Regions from separate parts of the Homo sapiens genome. Here region 1 is linked to region 2. Evidence: promoter capture Hi-C in 16 types of primary human blood cells and fetal thymus (Javierre and others, 2016). All regions are on one chromosome and are shown on one strand. Each heading gives the region's core, a stretch centred on a gene start or on the middle of the fragment in contact. The rest is flanking DNA. Distances are from core to core; before and after follow the strand shown. Region 1 overlaps B3GLCT (beta 3-glucosyltransferase). Region 2 holds the start of RXFP2 (relaxin family peptide receptor 2).

Region 1 (5,569 bases), core at 1,132-3,631, 520 kb before region 2:
AAATAAAACCTGTGTCAAAGGGTGACTTTAATGTGCCTTTTCCTGGCTAGCATAGGAGCTTTCTGTGGGGTAGAGATTAATGGCAAATCTCTTTCGTATCTGAATAGCAATTCAGTTGACTTATAAAACCTTGACAGTGAGCACATTTTGATTGATATTGATAGCGTAAGAAACATCTGGTAGCAGAAATAATAAAACAAACCATGTGTTTCCTTCATTTTAGGAAGAACTAAGTCTTTTCACAAGGGAAGCTGGAGACAGAATTTTAATTGTTCTGTTAATTTAGTCTAATTTTCTTTCTCACAGGGGAAATTAGTCAAGACCATTTTGGTTCCATCTCAATTCACCTTATTCAACTGTTTCTTGCATATTTGATTTTTACAGTTTACAAATTGAACCCCTTGAAATGGCTAATCATTTCCTAGCTATTGTGTCAGTCAACAGAGCTGCTGTGTTTAATGGCAAAGAGAAAGATGTATCATTTTTGTTGCTATTCTTTGATTTCACAAAGATAGCTATCTGATGGAAAGTCCAGTTGGCTTTTCAGCTTCAGTTGCTTAGTCTAGAACTGTAGCATTCTGGATATTTTTCATCTTTTAACTTGTTGATGAAGGTGACTTTTGCTTTCTATATTATTTTTTAGCTCACTCTCAAAATCTATTCACATCTAATGATGTGTATTTTTTAAAGCATGCTTCCCGAGGAAGGCTGGGCAGGCGTTATCATGGCGGTGTGAGGAAGAGCATTGGGACCGAGTTAGGAGACCTGGTTTGTAATTCTGGTTCTGTGGCCAGAATGACTGCTGGACCTTGGGAAAATGATTTATCTTTTCTGAGCCTCTGTTATCTCATTTGCAAAAGGGGAGTGTTGGGTTGAATCATCTCCAATGCTGTTTTTAGATCTAACAATTCTATTTTTCCAGGAGCCTCAGCTGGCAGCCAAAGCTGTGGCATCCAGAAGGCAGCTTGGCCTGGGGCAAGTGGTGGGTTGCCAGTGGAGCCAAATGGCTCCTCTGGAGCTGAGGCTGGCCCCTTCCCTGAGGGCAGGTTGTCTTCCTGGTCAAGAGTGGCATTTAGAGTAAGTCTGCGCATGCTGACTTACGGTGATAACCTGGCTTTGGTTCAGTGCATTCAGGGAACTGGATTGAACTTTCCAGTCTTTTTTAGTAATTTCTTCCAGATCTACCTGTTTCATCAGGATTAAGTTAGGTGTCACTTGATCCATCGTGAGAGTTAACAAATCAGCATATAACTATAGGTTCTCCTCTACTCAGTGGCATTTCTAGTCTCGAGACAAAGATAATTTCAGAATATGCCACTAAAGGTAGTCCCTCCCCTGTGTTTAGCTCTCTCTTCCCCGAGTGTTGTCATGGTCCCTTTGGTATTCTTAGAGGATGCATCTCTGTGGATACGTCTCTTGGCTTTTAAGCCGCTCCCAATTTTGTTGGTAAGGGCTCACGACCACATTTCTTGTTGCAGTCTGTGAAGAAAATTGAAGGATATTTGCCACCATCCCGTTGTCATAATTATAGCATATGACTGTTGAAAGCAAGAAAGGGCAATTAGGGAGAAAATTCCTTCTTAGTCTGCAGAGAAGACAATGAAAATGGCACATTTAGCTGCTGACACTTTGCACTTTGCCAGATAAATCTTTTGAGAGTTCCTCCGTTGATTTACACAGAGTCGAGGTCAGGTATTTCTGTGCCCACATCCAGATTTCTGTGTCTGGAGCTCTCCAGCTCTTAAGGTGCCCCTTCTGTGCTCCTGATTTTTTTTTTTTTTTTTTTTTTGATATGGAGTCTTGCTCTGTTGCCCAGGCTGGAATGCAGTGACACGATCTCAGCTCACTGCAACCTCCGCCTCCTGGGTTCAAGCGATTGTCCTGCCTCAGCCTCCTGATTAGCTGGGACTACAGGCGCCTGCCATCATGCCCGGCTAACTTTTGTATTTTTAGTAGCGGTGGGGTTTTCCGTATTGGCCAGGCTGGTCTTGAACTCCTGACCTTGTGATCCACCTGCCTCGACCTCCCAAAGTGCTGGGGTTACAGGTATGAGCCACCGCACCCGGCCTCTGTGCTCCTGAATTCTGGTGACCACCATAGGCTGGCCTCTGAGGCCCTTTGCAGGCCCCTAGGACTACTCCTCAGGTTGGAGAGAACATTGTGGTAACATTCTTGAAGATAGCATGACTGCACCCAAAAGATGATAAAGTGCAATAATTAGTAGAACTTATCTTCATGAGGAGCACCCTGCCAGGTTCGAGACTATCCTCTGATATGTTCCTAATGCTTTATGGTTTACAGGGCTTTAAAAATGGACCCTCCTGAGAATATCATGAACCAGTTAAACATTCACTGCATCTTACACAATAGGAAAGAGCTTCAGCTCAATCAATTGACTTGCCCAAGATCACATGAGAAGGGCACAGCCCCAACTAAGAAGTCTGTCATGATACAGAAGTACATCATTGCTCCGTGGTCCCTTAGGTTTCGGTCTCATTTCTTTAGGGAAGCGTTTCCAAGCTCCGTTTTTCAAATCTTCCTCCCATGTGCTGATACATACCATGCACCATGCATGTTTACTCAGTGTACTGCTGGCTTTGTTATGTACTGAGATTCATCTTTTTCTCTTTCATTTAAAATACAGGATTTGGAGAAAAGTGGTATATCAAGGAAAAATGACATAGGTAAGTAATGATTTTTTTTACCTAAGAGTGTGTACTTAGGTATATTTTGTATGAATTATATTTCCATGAAGTGATTTTTTTCTGATTTTATTTATGGGGTAAATATTGTTGTTCAAATATTCTGTCTTTGGCCCAGCCTAACGTTTGCTCTCCTGAAGATGTGGGGCAAACACCTCTCAGATGGGCATGTTGGCATGTGGTGGATTTATGTTTACTTAGTGAGATATGTTGGATTTAATTCCCTCTGGCATCATTCATTGAGCTTCCAGTAAGGATAAAGCACCATGCCTGGTGGGCTCTCTGGGGGAATGCAGAGGGGAAGGAGACATGGTCCCTGTTATTAAGGACCCACATGATGTGGGAGAACAGAACAAGCTGTGACATTAGCGCAGGCCGTCCGGGAGCAGGCTGTCCACTTGCTGACCTGCAGACACCTCCATGCCTTTCAGGAGTCAGCTCACCAGTCACGTCTGCCAAACTTGTCCCGAGCATCCTGGCCTGGAAGCCGTTACTCCTTCCTTTGTAAGGCATCATACTTCTATCATTGCCCATTCCTTATTTGTACTCCTTTTGAAACACCCTCTCCGCCATAGTTTGTAAGTATCTTCAGAAATGTGACCAGGAGTTAGACTTTAAAAAAAAATTAATGGGAAGCATGCCCAGTGTGTAAGGCCACACCTCTGTGTGTAGGGGTGAGTTTGTCCTTGAAGGGTGTGAATTTTGTCAATGTCTTTCCTCCCAGGGTAGGAGGAATGACCCAAGTCTGGAACACAATCAGCCAGGACCTGGACACCAGTAGCAGTGGAACCTCACAGGAAGCCTATGGTGTCAGGGGGTATGCGGTCCATGGGAGAAGTCTCCCTTCAGACACAGGGGGTTGGCTCACCTCCAGTTTCATGATGGATAAGCCTGGGTTCCAGGAAACAAGAAGGGAACAATATGCTCTTCTTGCTTCCTCTCCACTATTTTCCATGGAGACCTGGAAGGCGAGCTCTAGATAAGAGGGAAAAGGATAAAGGAAAGTGTTCCTTTCTAGGCCTTCCCTTCCTGGGCCTGGGTTCTGAGGGGTGCAGAAGTTCAGGAGAGACCCCCGCCCCCGGGTGGAAGTGGGAGGATGACCTGTCTTGGGCACGCATATCTAGGGCCCACAGGGGAGTGTTTTGGGGTCTGCGAGCAGCTGTATTTAAGGAACCACGTCAATTTGTTGCTTTTTCTTTCTATTATAACACCCTGTATGGTTTAGCCACGCCTTTCCATGTGGAGATTTTCTTCCCTGCTACCAACTCTGTGGCTTTGAGCATTTATTTGTAGTTTATGGGAGCAGATGAGTCTCTGGTTATTAAATGAATTAATGATGCAAGTCTGGAACATGGGCTTGAAACTACAAAGGGGAAGTTACCTTGGACAAGTAAATTTATATTCTTGCAATTGCACATGGCAAGTCGAGTGATACCTAACTTGGTATCAGTTCATCTGAAAAAGACCCAGGGGACTTCTTTGTCACAATCTTTGTGTGAGCCTGCAAGACCAGGAGGCTACTAAAGATCCTGGGCAGTTGCAGTGACAACAGTAGATTCAGGGCACCGAGAGCATGGCTCACAGTCAGAGCTGGGAGATAGCCTCCATGCACGGGATGCTGTTTCTCCTTCAGCTTGCTGCCTAATTGATAGATTCACTAGTATATGATTATTCTCACCAAGTAAACATAATTGGAGTGGCCCGCTTTGTGTGTGTGTGTTTGTGGGTGTGTGTGTATGCATGCATATTTTTTCCTCAACTTTAAATCATAAGGCTGCTTGTTACAGCTTATATCAGAAGTACATCGTATTGGTTTTTCATCAGAAAAACACCAGCATGATGAAACCCATTTTTCTAGGTAATTTCTGACCAGGAAGATGAGCACTTTACAGTACAGTGCTTGGCCCATGGTAGGTGCTCAGCAACTGAAGACATAGAGAGCATTGGTTTCTTCTGCTTTCATAGAAGAATCATTGCTCTTCAGCATCCATTTTCTAACTATCTCTCTGTCCTGCTGCCTTTCCTGAGCACTGTCTGCCACTCACCATTGGCTTTGGCATTGCATTGGCCCTTTAGGTATCCTTTGCTAATTTCTTTATCTTCCCCTTTTAGCCTGTCACTCTGATTATTATTGTCAGGCACTTAGTGTGCGGCCCATTTATTGCCCATTCCTGGGGGAGAAACAATGACAATCCATCTTGAGTTGTGACAGTGTTTGCTGAAGGCAGATTGCAGTGAGTTTAAAGAAGTGCAACCAAGATGATAAGGAAATCATGGAATTGTCTTATTTAGCTCTGTGGACTGGGCAGCAGGAGCTTAAGAGTCAGGTGGTTGGATGGCATACACAGAGAAGACAGCTACCAAGATAAGCTCTGGGATCTGGACTCAGCCAGAATGTGATTCAGTGAAGGGATGGCTTAGGCTGTATGTCAGAAAATATTTCTTGGTACTGCTATAAAGAACAGCAGGAATTTAAACACATAAGCTGTTTTCAGCACCGAACTGTACTAACTATACTAACCTGGTTCTTTTCTGGAATGGGTTGGGGCTGACTAGCATGTCAGTGATCTTCCGGCATTCATTATGATCAGGGTTGCAGGAGCTCCCCTCCCCTTTAGCCTTGTCCTCGATAATACCCCCATGCGTCCTGTTCCTTGGCTATACCTAACCGTTAGTATTTTCCTGCCCTAAATTTGATTCTGTCCCAAACTTTCACTGCTCCCTCTGTGGGGAGGGTCTTCCCACCCCTTTTTTCCCCCATCTTCGGGACAGTGTCCTCCTTCCCTCCTTTGGGAAGTCCCCACTGCCTGGGACCCCACTTGGCTCATGAGGCCCTTCCCCCATTTGAAAGTGATTAATCTAGAGCC
Region 2 (5,706 bases), core at 3,050-5,549:
TAGGTGGTCTGTCTTTTCCCTCTGGTTTCTTTTATATTATACAATTTCAAAACTGAATGTCTAAATATGGATTCATTTTATTTGCCCTGCCTAGTAGATGTTGTCCTTGCTATATCTATAAATTCTTGTATTTTATCAGTTCTAGAAAATTCTCAATAATTATCTCCTGAGATATTATCTCCTCTTCTTTCTCACTAGTTTCTCCTATGGGGACTATAATTAGCTGTATGTTGAAATTTTTCCTGCTTTCCTCCTAGTCTCTTCTTTCATTTTTTTTTTCATTCCCTGTTTATCTATGCTGCCTTCTGGGAAGTTTCTTCACTCCCTTACTTCCATTTACAACTTATTTTCTCAACTATGTTTTGACAGCTCTTTACCCTATCCACTGAGTTTTAAAATTTTAGGAACATATTTTTCATTTCTGAAAATTCTCTTTGTTGCTTTTTGATAGTTTCTTATTCCTTAATTATTCTTGTGATTGCAGTCTTTAAATATTTTACATTCCATAACTGATCATTTCGATATTTGAAGTACATGGGGTTCTAAATTTATTGCTTTGTTTCTGTCAACTTTTACCCATATGTCCTCGGTTGATCTTTGATAATGAGCTAATATTTAGTTGATTTTAACCTGGATAAAATCTAGGGGTTTCAATTAAGAATATTTTTCTTATACAGTGTGCATTTCTTTTGCAATGGTGCTACAGGACACCGCCTTTCATGTCTTTAGCCTGATCCTTCGTGGAAGCTTTGGCTTAGCTCTCAGATTTGGACACTGACTCAAGGCCTAAAAGTTGTAGTGCTGATATCTGCATTTTTTGCAAACGAATCTTGCCTTTTACATTTGTTCACTCTGCTCCATTGCCATTTCAGCATTTGGTTCTTATTTTTGTCATGTATTTTCCCTTTAGACTCGATTCCCCTCATTTTGAAGACTGCAGAAATGCAACAAAATTTTTTTATGCAGGAGCTGTTACAGTATTTTCAAGTAAGAAGTCTTTTCAGTGTATCTAATCTACCATACTGCCAGTAGTGGATGTCTCAGGGTTATTTTTTACTCTGGGTTCGTGGCTATGCTCCTAATAATTGAGCTTGCCAAGAGTTGAAATTCCCAGACAAATGGAGCATGACTTAAATTATTTAAAATTTAGAACATCAAAGTTAGAACACTTAAGCCCAGGCATGGCGGCTTATGTTTATAATCCCAACACTTTGGGAGGCTGAGGTGGGAGGACTGCTTGAGCCCAGGAGTTCAAGACCAGACTGGGCAACATAGGGAGACCCCACGTCTACAAAAAATGAAAATAAAAAATTAGTGGATGTGGTCACATACACCTGTGATCTCAGCTACTCAGGAGGCTGAGGTAGAAGGATTGTTTGGGCCTGGGAGGTTGAGGCTGCAGTGAGCAACGATAGCACCACTGCACAAGACCCTGTCTAAAAAAAGAAAAAAAAAGAAACCTTCATTTAGACTTTCTTGATCAAAATGGACCCTGTGCCAGAACTAGTTTGCTCAACTGATGGACACACTGTGTTGACTATGCTGATGAGATCATGTGATTGTTAGGTTTGCTGTGCCCACAGGGTGCAAATAAATCTTACTGAATAATGACAATGCTATAAACTCACACATAAAGGCTAATATATAGCTATAATCACAAATACTTAGCTAGTATGGCTGAATTCCTCAGATTTTACTATAACTTGATTTATGATAAGGAGGCTATTCAAGTGAGCATTGACATTATTGGCCTGCTATCATGAGCTTGGGATTCTGATGTTTATTATTCTATAATTTATCTTTTTGAGGACAGATATTATCTATTCATATAATTTGTTCTTTGAATATCACTATGTCTTGTTTTCCCCAAAACAGAAAGTGATACTAACTGCTAATGGATCAGGTTTTGTGAATAAGAGGCTATATAAAGTGAAAAGGCTATAGAAGTGAGAAATGTTTACAAGGCTATACTCTCATTAAGTAGAGTAAGTGTTTAGTAAATATCTTAATTGAAAACATTAATTTGGCAAGGTAATGAATTATAGCCTATATAAAAAACAATCACACAGTTATGAAAATGTGTTAAAATTAGGGTTTCTGACCATTTTTAAGTAAATTATGTTCTTGATTTAAGAATTTTATATTTAACAATGGTTTCCAAGATGTACACAAAAATTACAGTAGAAGCTAAGAAAATGTCTGTGCCCTCCCCCCATCACATAGAACTAGGTAATTAGTACTTTCAGTAAATAAATTCCCTTCAATTAGCCAGAATTATATTGAATTGTGCTATATAGTAAATAATATATTCACATGAGGTTTTATAGTATTACTGCTAAAAGTATGGGTCCTACCAACAGGTGACTGGAATGAAGGGATGAGCTGATTCAGGCAAGGATCAATAAAAAACACTTGCGCAGATTCGAAGTTACTATCGAGTGAGAATCAGTTTGCACAAGTCTTTCATCTCAGCTCTGCATGAAGCACTCCTTGGAACCTCCTTACCAACTGTGGCTTTAAGAATAGACTACATTCATTCACTCTTATTTAAACACATACATTATATCCCTGTGTACATGTCAATCATTTCAGTTTCGGTGCAAAAGGCTGGATATTCACACCAGATAAGTCAAAGTTAAAACATATTAAATGAAATGGTATTTCAAAGCTTGCATGCTCTACCTTTAAAAACCAGTGAGCCAAAGATGTTCCTATTATTTATAATTATTGATTTCTGAAAGTTTGTGTTAATACATTTCAAAGATTAACATTGAAAAGCCTAACAGAAAGGAATAACGATTCAACTTTTTGGCAATGTAAATCTATTGCTAGGGCTCGATATCATGAATAAATCTTAACTAATTTCTTTGACATCTTGACATTTCTTATTTCTCCAAAAATTACATTTTCATAGAAAATATATTTATACTTCAAATAGACTTATGATGGTATTTAATTGCACTTAAAAACTCATGCTCAAAATTTCAGTACCAGAAACTAGCATCCATCATCTCGACAGCAAAACACAAAACGTAAGAAAAACTAATCATTCCTTTAAGTGAAATAAGGCAATTTTTACCTAAAAAGACCTTGAGGTTAGTGAGGGAAAAAAAGATGCTTGAAATGTAAGAAAAGATCCTGAAGTATTTCTTTTCATCTTTATTCTCTCTGTTGCTTTTTCTTTTGATTTGAAAGATCAGATGAGACCACATATAAATATGTCTGGGAGGTGTCTTAGAGAACTTAACTCACTTCTTAAAAAGAGAAAAGAACTAAATACATTATGTGATAAATAAAGTATTTTTTATTGTACATTCTGTTTGAATCCTTGTTCTCTCAAAGGCTAGAATGAAAGAAAGAACAAGGAAAACCCCGTGTTTTATGATTTGTGACGATAATAGTCACCACAAGGTAGTTTTTTTCAGTGTTGTTAGGACACAGTTAACGACAACATATAAGAGAATCTGCATCGTTCAGTCACAAAATCTTCTCTTCAAATCAGAACTACAAACTGTATTCTAGATAGATATTTCCCTGTTAGTAAAATATAAACTCAGACATGGAAATTCTACATCTTTTTGGAGAAGTCTTAATGATTACACTAGGATCAACAGAATCCTACAACCAAAAGTCAATTTTTATACTTTTAACTTGTACTAACTATGCTGTTGAGAAAGCTGCTTTCAGGATGTAAGAACTAAATTATAATTAGTGTTTTCTAATAGGTGTGCAATACAGAGCTGGAAGCAAGAATAAAATTATTCACTTCAAGAAAAAGGAATATGATTATGCGGGAAGTATGTGAAGTGAAAATATTGTATGAATGTTTTACAGTAATTATTTAACACAATGCCATATATTTAAATTATCTTTTCATATGTCATTTGAAAACATTTAGGTACATTTGAATAGAAGTGGGTGTTCTTTGTGTATCTGTCAATAAGTAGTTTTTTACATTTGTTTATTGCATGAAAATATAATTGTAAAGGGTTTCATAGCCTATTCAGTGTAAGCCTATATCCTTCATATTTGAGAACTTCGATGTTTGGATTTAAACAGAGCAAATTGTACATGCTTTGGAGGAAAAAAATTTTTAAGTGATTAAAAAATATTTCTTATCAGATAATACCAAAGTCCTATTATACCTTCTTTTACACACCATAATGAATTAGTGATCAAGAACACAACTGTAGATTTAAACTAAAAGAAACAAAAAAGAAAGAACAAAAAAGACAGGCTGCATAGTGACAAGAATCCATCTCCCTTCATGCCAGTGAGGTTCTAGCTGTGAGCATGCTCAGAACATGGGAGGCACTGAACTTACTACATCAGAACTCCTGCTGAGGTATAAGAGGATACGTCTAATAACTCAATTGCTGTAAACCTATGATTGTTTTTCTGGTTTTTAAACATCTCTTCAGCCTCAGATTGATTACAATGTTCTTTCTACTTCATTTCATCGTTCTGATCAATGTCAAAGGTAAGGTTGCTACTTTCTCGTTTTAAATGAGTGCAATTCCCAAAAAATACATTTCTATGTAGTTCTATGGCAGTTGTAATAAATATATTGGGGTGTTTAAAAAAAAAACAGACATCAAATTTGCCTGGTATTTGTCATTATCTTTCATTGCTTGTAGTCCCACACAGCCTAGTAATTTTTAGATGCAACAAATTTTTCATGGAAACAAGCCTTTGTATGTTATTAAAGCTGTAGATAAAATATGTCAAAAAACAATGTTGACTATATCAATTAAAACATAGAAAACATTTTTGGCATTTGTTCTGAAAAGTGTGACAAATTAATAAACTAAAATTGTGTTTTGTGGAATTTCAACCTGTTGAAATATGCCCATAAAATTCAAGTAATTATTAGTAACTATCTTGCGTGAACATAATTAAACTGGGAACTCCAAAGCCACAGGCAGATCTAAAAAACAGTATCTGTCTCTAAGAGTAAACCTCTCTAAAATAAAGTTATTAAAAGTCTATACAAGTGCATTTACTTAGATAATTTTCTTTTGTTTTTAATTTGTGGAAATTTTTATTTCAGTCAAACTCTTAAGTTTCAAGTCAGTACCATTTTCATTGTAAAGCTCACCAAAAAATAAAACCTAAATCTTCACTTGTTTTTAAATAAAAAGATACGTTGTCAGCCTATACATTCATAAACAACCTATTAACCACACCCAAGATTTGCTGGGGTTTATTATTATTCAAAAATGTTTCTATTTTAATTTGTATTTTTTCTTAAAGAATTTTGATAAACCTCTGAGAATAAAGGTTAAAATTTGAAATTATTTTTATTTTCTGAGAAATTCGTTTTAGGTTTTTTAAATATTCAGTTTTATTAGGTGAATTCCAAGTGAATATTTTAAATCTTGAAATAAAATGCAATACTTATGAGGAATTATTTTAAAACTTCTAACAAACAAAAGATTTTTAAAAGGCTTAAAATATCTAAATTTTATTTTGAATTTAAAATAATACTAAAACTTTACTACAAATATTTAAAATCTATATCTCCATGCACCTAGCATGACTTTTATTTTATATTTTAATATCTCTTACATGAAAAGCTAAGGATTAACTAAGAAGAAACAATATATGAACTCACCTTGCATGCAGTACAGTTGCAACAAGCAGTCTATTTCTATATTTAAGGTCCTACTTCAGAAGTTCATGTTCTATCCACATTTGAATATTCAA

What was found. Contacts are between HindIII fragments. The CHiCAGO score rates a contact against its expected background, and 5 or more counts as called.
Region 1: a contact is called between a fragment that was not itself captured here and the fragment with the promoter of RXFP2 in region 2, in 1 of 17 cell types (M1 macrophages). The highest score is 5.6, in M1 macrophages.

The regions. Positions count from the first base shown.
Region 1 is chr13:31,220,308-31,225,876 of GRCh38, forward strand. It overlaps B3GLCT (beta 3-glucosyltransferase), which reads left to right. Exons shown (of 15, transcript NM_194318.4): 3 at 2,645-2,684. Among named protein-coding and RNA genes, the nearest start is that of B3GLCT, 23 kb to the left of the region's middle. The HindIII fragment of the contact is 7,802 bases long and covers 1-5,569 here.
Region 2 is chr13:31,735,227-31,740,932 of GRCh38, forward strand. It overlaps RXFP2 (relaxin family peptide receptor 2), which reads left to right and starts at 4,300. Exons shown (of 18, transcript NM_130806.5): 1 at 4,300-4,480. The coding sequence starts at 4,387. The HindIII fragment of the contact is 9,597 bases long and covers 2,667-5,706 here.